3 separate regions of the Homo sapiens genome follow, and all the other regions are linked to region 3. Evidence: promoter capture Hi-C in 16 types of primary human blood cells and fetal thymus (Javierre and others, 2016). All regions are on one chromosome and are shown on one strand. The core of a region is centred on a gene start or on the middle of the fragment in contact, and the rest is flanking DNA. Distances in the headings are between cores, read along the strand shown. Region 1 has its middle 52 kb from the start of PDP1. Region 2 has its middle 78 kb from the start of PDP1. Region 3 holds the start of CIBAR1-DT (CIBAR1 divergent transcript).

Evidence for each region. The method cuts DNA at HindIII sites, captures the fragments that hold promoters and counts their contacts. A CHiCAGO score of 5 or more calls a contact.
Region 1: a contact is called between a fragment that was not itself captured here and the fragment with the promoter of CIBAR1-DT in region 3, in 4 of 17 cell types (megakaryocytes, total CD8 T cells, naive B cells and 1 more). The highest score is 7.6, in megakaryocytes.
Region 2: a fragment that was not itself captured here is called in contact with the fragment with the promoter of CIBAR1-DT in region 3 in 1 of 17 cell types (endothelial precursors); the score reaches 5.5 in endothelial precursors.

What each region holds. Positions count from the first base shown.
Region 1 is chr8:93,967,986-93,970,685 of GRCh38, forward strand. No RefSeq gene overlaps it. Among named protein-coding and RNA genes, the nearest start is that of PDP1, 52 kb to the left of the region's middle. RefSeq lists a silencer at 1,485-1,554 and an enhancer at 2,182-2,683. The HindIII fragment of the contact is 294 bases long and covers 1,216-1,509 here.
Region 2 is chr8:93,994,047-93,996,746 of GRCh38, forward strand. No RefSeq gene overlaps it. Among named protein-coding and RNA genes, the nearest start is that of PDP1, 78 kb to the left of the region's middle. The HindIII fragment of the contact is 1,737 bases long and covers 436-2,172 here.
Region 3 is chr8:93,699,174-93,701,873 of GRCh38, forward strand. CIBAR1-DT (CIBAR1 divergent transcript) reads right to left here and starts at 1,260. Exons shown (of 11, transcript NR_033858.1): 1 at 763-1,260. CIBAR1 (CBY1 interacting BAR domain containing 1) reads left to right here and starts at 1,377. Exons shown (of 9, transcript NM_145269.5): 1 at 1,377-1,500; 2 at 2,051-2,285. The coding sequence starts at 1,475. RefSeq lists enhancers at 896-975, 1,005-1,629 and silencers at 1,196-1,245, 1,276-1,415, 1,606-1,725. The HindIII fragment of the contact is 5,458 bases long and covers 1-2,700 here.

The DNA.
Region 1 (2,700 bases), core at 113-2,612, 270 kb after region 3:
AGTGCTTCCTTCAAGAGCTCTTGTAAGGCAGGCCTGGTGGTGACAAAATCTCTCAGCATTTGCTTGTCTGTAAAGGATTTTATTTCTCCTTCACTTATGAAGCTCAGTTTGGCTAGATATGAAATTCTGGGTTGAAAATTCTTTTCTTTAAGAATGTTGAATATTGGCCCCCACTGTCTTCTGGCTTGTAGGGTTTCTGTAGAGAGATCCACTGTTAGTCTGATGGGCTTCCCTTTGTAGGTAACTCGACCTTTCTCTCTGGCTGCCCTTAACATTTTTTCCTTCATTTCAACCTTGGTGAATCTGACAATTTCTTGAGGAATATCTTAGTGGTGTTCTCTGTATTTCCTGAATTTGAATGTTGGCCTGCCTTTCTAGGTTGGGGAAGTTATCCTGGATAATATCCTAAAGAGTGTTTCCCAACTTGGTTCCATTTTCCCCATCACTTTCAGGTACACCAATCAAATGTAGATTTGGTCTTTTCACATAGTCCCATATTTCTTGGAGGCTTTGTTCATTTCTTTTTACTCTTTTTTCTCTAACCTTGTCTTTTTGCTTTATTTCATTAATTTGATCTTCAGTCACTGATACCCTTTCTTCCACTTGACCGAATCAGCTATTGAAGCTTGTGCATGCATCACGAAGTTCTCGTGCCATGGTTTTCAGCTCCATCAGGTCATTTAAGGTCTTCTCTACACTGTTTATTCTAGTTAGCCATTCATCTAACCTTTTTTCAAGGTTTTTAGCTTCCTTGCTATGGGTTCAAACATGCTCCTTTAGCTCGGAGAAGTTTATTACTACTGACCTTCTGAAGCCTACTTCTGTCAACTCATCAAAGTCATTCTCCATCCAGCTTTGTTTTGTTGCTGGCAAGGAGCTGCAATCCTTTGGAGGAGAGGAGGTGCTCTGATTTTTACAATTTTCGGCTTTTCTGCTCTGGTTTCTTCCCATCTTTTTGTTTTTGTCTACCTTTGGTCTTTGATGTTGGTGACCTACAGGTGGGGTTTTGGTGTAGATGTCCTTTTTGTTGATGTTGATGCTATTCCTCTCTGTTTGTTAGTTTTCCTTTGAATAGTCGTGTCCCTCAGCTGCAGGTCTGTTGGAGTTTGCTGGAGGTCCACTCCAGAACCTGTTTGCCTGAGTATCACCAGCAGAGGCTGCAGAACAGCAAATATTGCAGAACAGCAAATACTGCTGCCTGATCCTTCCTCTGGAAGCTTCGTCCCAGAGGGGCACCTGCCTATATGAGGTGTCTGTCGGCCCCTACTGGGAGGTGTCTCCCAGTTAGGCTACATGGGGGTCAGAGACCCACTTAAGGAGGCAGTCTCTCCATTCTCAGAACTCAAATGCCATGTTGGGAGAACCACTGCTCTCTTCAGAGCTGTCAGACAGGGACGTTTAAGTCTGTAGAAGTTGTCTGCTGCCTTTTGTACAGCTAAGCCCTGCCCACTGAGATGGAGTCTAGATGCAGTAGGCCTTGCTGATCTGCGGTGGGCTCCGCCCTGTTCAAGCTTCCTGGCTGCTTTGTTTACATACTCAAGCCTCAGCAATGGTGGACGCCCCTCCTCCCACCAGCTCGTGCCTTGCAGGTCAATCTCAGACTGCTGTGCTAGCAGTGAGCAAGGCTCTGTGGGTGTGGGACCCACTCAGGCAGACATGGGAGAGAATCTCCTTGTCTGCCAGTTGTTAAGACCTTGGGAAAAGTGCAGTATTTAGGTGGGAGTGTCCCATTTTTCCAGGTACAGTCTGTCACAGCTTCCCTTGGATAGGAAAGGAAAGTCCCCTAACCCCTTGTGCTTCCCAGATGAGGTGAAGCCCTGCCCTGCTTCAGCTCACCCTCCGTGGGTTGCACCTACTGTCCAACTTGTCCCAGTGAGATGAACCAGGTACCTCAGTTGGAAATGCAGATATCACCCGTCTTCTGTGTTGATCACACTGGGAGCTGCAGACTGGAGCTGTTCCTATTCGGCCATCTTGGAACAGATCTCTAGTTTTATGTCTTACATTTAAGTCTTTAATCTATCTCGGGTTAATTTTTGTATATGGTGAAAGGTAGGGGTCCAGTTTCATTCCTCTATGTTTGGCTAGCCAGTTATGCCAGCACAATTTATTGAATAGAAAGGCCTTTCCCCATTGCTTGTCAACTTTGTTAAAGCAGATCATTTATTTTCATTGCCATATAGTATTCCATTGGGTGAATATCCTACCATTTATTTATCCAGTCTTGATTAATGGGCATTTGGATAATTTTCCATTTTTGCTTTTTTTTTTTGCCTTCAAGCATCTGTTTAACAAAGCACATCTTGCACCGCCCTTAATCCATTTAACCCTGAGTGGACACAGCACATGTTTCAGAGAGCAGGGGGTTGGGGGTAAGGTTATAGATTAACAGCATCCCAAGGCAGAAGAATTTTTCTTAGTACAGAACAAAATGGAGTCTCCCATGTCTACTTCTTTCTACACAGACACAGTAACAATCTGATCTCTCTTTCTTTTCCCCACATTTCCCCCTTTTCTATTCGACAAAACTGCCATCGTCATCATGGCCCGTTCTCAATGAGCTGTTGGGTACACCTCCCAGACGGGGTGGCGGCCAGGCAGAGGGGCTCCTCACTTCCCAGATGGGGTGGCTGGGCAGAGGTGCCCCCCACCTCCGAGATGGGGCAGTGGCCGGGCGGGGGCTGCCCCCCACCTCCCTCC
Region 2 (2,700 bases), core at 54-2,553, 290 kb after region 3:
AGTTTTGACATAAACATGATCTAGAAAGTAAAACTGCCTTAAAGATGAATTTAGCCTTGACTGACTTGATTGTTTGATTGATTTATCAACAGGGTAATTGGCAAAGCTAAGATATAATCACATATTTTATTGATTGATTCCTAAAATATGTTTCTTAAATTTTATGCATACTTAGCTGCTTGTGAGTTTTGACATAAACATGATCTAGAAAGCAAAACTGCCTTAAAGATGAATTTAGCCTTGACTGACTTGATTGTTTGATTGATTTATCAACAGGGTAATTGGCAAAGCTAAGATATAATCACATATTTTAATTTAGAAACAACACTTCTCACAAAGTCAACATCTTAAATCTTGTTTCTGAAGAAATTGGCACCAGGACAATGTCTTCTATTGGAATAAGTGTGGATGAGAAGCAGCATCATATGCCTGGAAAGCTTATGGGCTTTGAAGTCACAGACCTGATTATGACACTGGACTCCATTCATTTCTTCATTTATTTAAAAAAATCCATTCTGTGTGCCAGGCATTGTGAGTGAGGCATGGATGATGGTGAACAAAACTTGTGCTTCCTGCCCTTGTGGAGCTTCCAGTCTCATGACTTTACTCACTGTATGTCCTCAGGCAAGTTATAGTACTTCCCTGAGCTCCATTTTAACTGTAAATTATATAGGAATCAATACTAAAATGAGGTATTTTCTTCATAAGACTGATGAAAAATAAATAGCATGAAGCATCTGGTTCATGGCAAGGACTCAGTAAATACTGTGATTTACCTTGTTTAATTACATCAAGTCCAGCAGCAGAGGGCAGTAGCATCTCTGATGACCTCGAGTCTTAATAAAATCCCTGCAATTTGGCTTTTACCCTCCGAACCGTCCTCCCTAAATCTGCTGCCACAGTTTTCCCATAGCTGGTGACCTTGGTCGGCTTTGCTCAGGCTTCATCCTCTTCCAGCTCTTGGCTGAGCTCTTCACAGGACAATCATGGATTTCTGCTTGAAACCCTGCCTCCCTGGCTTCCCCAATTCTATTCTCTCTGTGTGCTCTTCTTTTTTTTTATTTTATTTTATTATTATTTTTTATTATTATTATACTTTAAGTTTTAGGGTACATGTGCACAACGTGCAGGTTTGTTACATATGTATACATGTGCCATGTTGGTGTGCTGCACCCATTAACTCGTCATTTAGCATTAGGTATATCTCCTAATGCTATCCCTCCCCCCTCCCCCGACTCCACAACAGTCCCCGGTGTGTGATGTTCCCCTTCCTGTATCTATGTGTTCTCATTGTTCAATTCCCACCTATGAGTGAGAACATGCGGTGTTTGGTTTTTTGTCCTTGCGATAGTTTGCTGAGAATGATGGCTTCCAGCTTCATCCATGTCCCTACAAACGACATGAACTCATCATTTTTTATGGCTGCATAGTATTCCATGGTGTATATGTGCCACATTTTCTTAATCCAGTCTATCATTGTTGGACATTTGGGTTGCTTCCAAGTCTTTGCTATTGTGAATAGTGCCGCAATAAATACCATTTGACCCAGCCATCCCATTACTGGCTATATACCCAAAGGATTATAAATCTGTATGCCCTTCTTACTTTCCAGCTTCTTTTCCTCCTTTTTGTCTTGCCCTCTCTTCCTTCCCCTCATCCCCTTAATGAGTATCATATCAATGCACATGGTACCCACATCTTCTTTACCAGCCAGGACCCTTCTTCTGCCCTCCCTTCCCATATATCCAGCATTCAGCAGGCCTCTCCACTGTGTCCCTTCATACCTCCAGCTGAATGCTTACAGAACTGATTCCATCCTCTCTTCAAAGGGCCTCCTTCCTCTTACTTTGAATCAGTAAGTCACTTAAGCTCTCAGACACCCTGATTAGAAAACTTGGAATCTTTTTGGACCCTGCTTATCCCACAGTTTCCACATTTAAGCAAGTTGTTGACTTGGCCTAATCTTCAGAATCTCTCTTCCCCTTCTCTTTCCCATCACCCTTGTGCAACCTCTCATGCCTCTTATTCAGACTACAGCAATGGCCCCCTAAAGGGGCCCTGCTCTTTCTCCATGCTGCCTCACTTACTGCTGTTAGGCTCAACTCTGTTCCTAAAGCACGGTTCTGATTACCTTACTTCCTTGCTAAAAACCATTCATTCCTGAGTCCTCCAAGCTTCAGTCTGGCACATCAGCAATTCTTTCCAATCTGACTTCAGCTGACATTTCTGTCTTATCTCTAACCCTCTCCCAACACTCTTGCAATTGACGGTCCAGTGGGGGGATCAACACTAATCCATCACCACACAAGCATGCATCTGTGAATTACAATAAGGACTCTGAATGAAAAGAAGATTATGCTGTCAGAACATAAAACTGAGAGCCTGATCTGGCCCATGCAAGCAGCTGATGAAAGGTTGGAGAGATGCAAACAGTGGGGGCATGCATGCAACTCAGAGGAGAGGTGGCAGGGCCTTAGAGAAGGTGCCTGATAGATTTTGATCTGTATCCCAAGAGCAATGGAAAGCCACTGGAGGGTTCTAAACCTGATGGGCAAGATTAGATTTACATCCTTAAAAGGTGGTTGCACAGCAGGTAAGCTCCCTGAGAAGGGGGGTCTCTGCTTTTCACACTTGGTAGCTCTCTGAGTGCCTGAAACAGGGTCTTCTAAGACAAGCACTCCATGAGGAGCAATTAAAGTG
Region 3 (2,700 bases), core at 10-2,509:
AGCGAGGAATACAAGACCAAAATCACATTTAATCTGTCTCAAAGGGTTCAAAGTCTAGGGTACAGGAGGCAGTACAAAATCAACGAAGTGTACTGTTTGAGCATTCCAACACTTCGCTCCTTCAGACAGTATTAGGACCCCGTCCCAAAGCGTTAGGACAAGGCCCTAACGCTGCCTGAAAAAGTGAAGTGACGGAGGATCCCAGAGAGGTTTCTTGAAGCAGATAAAGTCTGAATTGAGGCCGGGCCCGGTGGCTCACGCCTGGAATCCCAGCACTTTGGGAGGCTGAAGGGGGGCGGATCACTTGAGGCCAAGAGTTCAAGACCAGCCTGGCCAACATGGCGAAACCCCGTCTCTACTAAAAATACAAAAAATCAGGCCAGCATAGTGGTGCACGCCTGTAATCCCAGCTATTTGAGAGCCTGAGGCAGGAGAATCGCTTGAACCCAGGAGGCGGAGGTTGCAGTGAGCCGAGATTGTGCCACTACACTCCAGCCTGGGCAACAGAGCGAGACTCCATCTAAAATACATATATAAATAAACAAAGTCTGAATAGAGTCCTTGCAGTATTTACTGGGAAAAGCAGCACACGCAAGGCCAGGAGGGTCAAAGGGACAGAGGCGTTCAAAGGACAAAGGAGAGCCTCCTGTTTGTTTGGGGTTTTATTCTTTTTGAATTTTTGTTCCCCCAGGCCAACTCTAAGAGCCAGAACTGTTCGTTATTTATCTCAGCACAGGTTCGGTGTAAGCGTTGCCTCCTTACCCGACGCTCAGGCCCTTCAGGTCCGGGACCCCTGCTTCTTAATTATGTTTCTATTACTCCCAGTGTCTAACACAATCTCTTCCACGAAGTCGGAACTTGATACATATTTGCTGAATAAACGAAAAGTTAAAGATGAGGCAGAAAGCACAGCTCCTTCCAAGGGCAGCTCTCAAGAGCCCACGTTTTCAGATTCAGCAGTGAAGCGGACGCGTCTGGTACGAGACTACAAGTCGCACAGGCGGAGAGGGGGCCCCCGGGCCTCTGGTTTCACGTCTCCCTCCTGGTCCCCGGCGGACCGGCGTCTTTTCTCCCCTGCTCGGAGTAGCCTAGCAGCGCTGGAGGCTGGCTGTCTGGTAAGCGCGGCTGTTAGAGAGGATGGAGGCGCCGTAGCCCCGCGGTGCTTCTCACAGCCTTCGCCGGCAGGGACGCGCGGGACAACCGCGCAGGCGGCTCTGCAGGGGTGGGCGCGCCATCACCCCTCTCGGTCCCTGCCTGCTTGGCGCTTTCCGAGCCCCAGCCGCGCTCAGGCTGCCTCGGGCATTGACCGCGGGGGCGCGCGCCCCGTTTCCATAGAAACGCCCGGCCTGCCGCGGCGGCGCGAGGGGCGGGCTTTCAGGCTCCCGGCGGCTGCTTGCGCCCCAGCGCGCGCCCAGGCGCCTTGGAATCCCCGTCCTTGGGCCCCCGCAAGGTCCCCGGCCGTGCGCGAGGCAGCATGATGAGGCGCACCCTGGAAAACCGGTAACAGCCCGAGCCCAGCTGCCCAGGGCCGCCCACACTGGAGGGCTGGGGTGAGGGAAGTGGAAGCCTCTGTCCATGGGGCCTCTGCGCCGAATTCCGACCCTGAGTGGGAGGCTGCACGGTCCCCGCTGTGACCTGGGGCCTAATTCCTTGGGCTGCAGCCACCGCCGGCGGCGAAGAGGAGCCCGGGGCCCGGCCGGCTGCCACCCACCCACGCCACCGGGTCTCGGGTCCCCACACTGCCGCGGGCAGTGCGGAAGCCTAGGAGGCAGCCGGGCGCCCAGGCCGCGCTGCGCGGAGCAGCCGGAGCAGCCACCTCCCCAGTTAAGGCCAGGCCCACCCGGCCTGGGCCTTTTCCTGTGCCTACACAGTCCGGATAGTGAGGTCAGGACCCCATGGAGAGCAGTCCGCGCCGGGAGACGCTGGGTCGTTGATGGGTTTACGCCTTCAAAGCTGCAGAATGCCCGGGGAATGTTTGCATGTTAAATTAACGTGAAGCCTTCTCATCTCTAACGAGAATGTTTTGCCTTTTGTGTCACCTTTTCCCTAGGAACGCTCAAACGAAACAACTGCAAACAGCTGTCTCAAATGTGGAGAAGCATTTTGGAGAACTGTGCCAAATCTTCGCTGCCTATGTGCGGAAAACTGCCAGGCTGAGAGACAAAGCAGACCTCCTGGTGAATGAAATTAACGCGTATGCTGCTACAGAGACCCCGCATTTAAAGCTGGGCCTGATGAACTTTGCAGATGAGTTTGCCAAACTTCAGGATTATCGACAAGCAGAGGTATGGAGTGAGATCACAGTGTCATTGTTATGAATGAGCCATGAAGTAGTGGATGAAGGAACCGTGGAAACTTTCACTTGTAATCTACCTAACTGCAGAGGTGGATGCAAACTTGATAAAACGTACATTTTCATAAGACTGTGTGAGTCTATTAAAGAGAAGCGTTCTGTGTTTTATTTTACCCTTTTCAAGCTAACCTTTAGGGCATCTTGAGGTCTTGAATTTCCCCACTTTATTTGCCAACTTTTGGCCAAGGGGTGGCTGTTTACTGGGGGTAGTGGGAATAGTACCCAGGGGGAAGAAAATAAGCATAACTTAATGTCTTGTGTGGCACATAAGTACGTTTTAAAGAATGACTGGAGATGGAAATGTTGGGAATGGTAATGTGGATGGATAAATTATTAATAAATGGGTA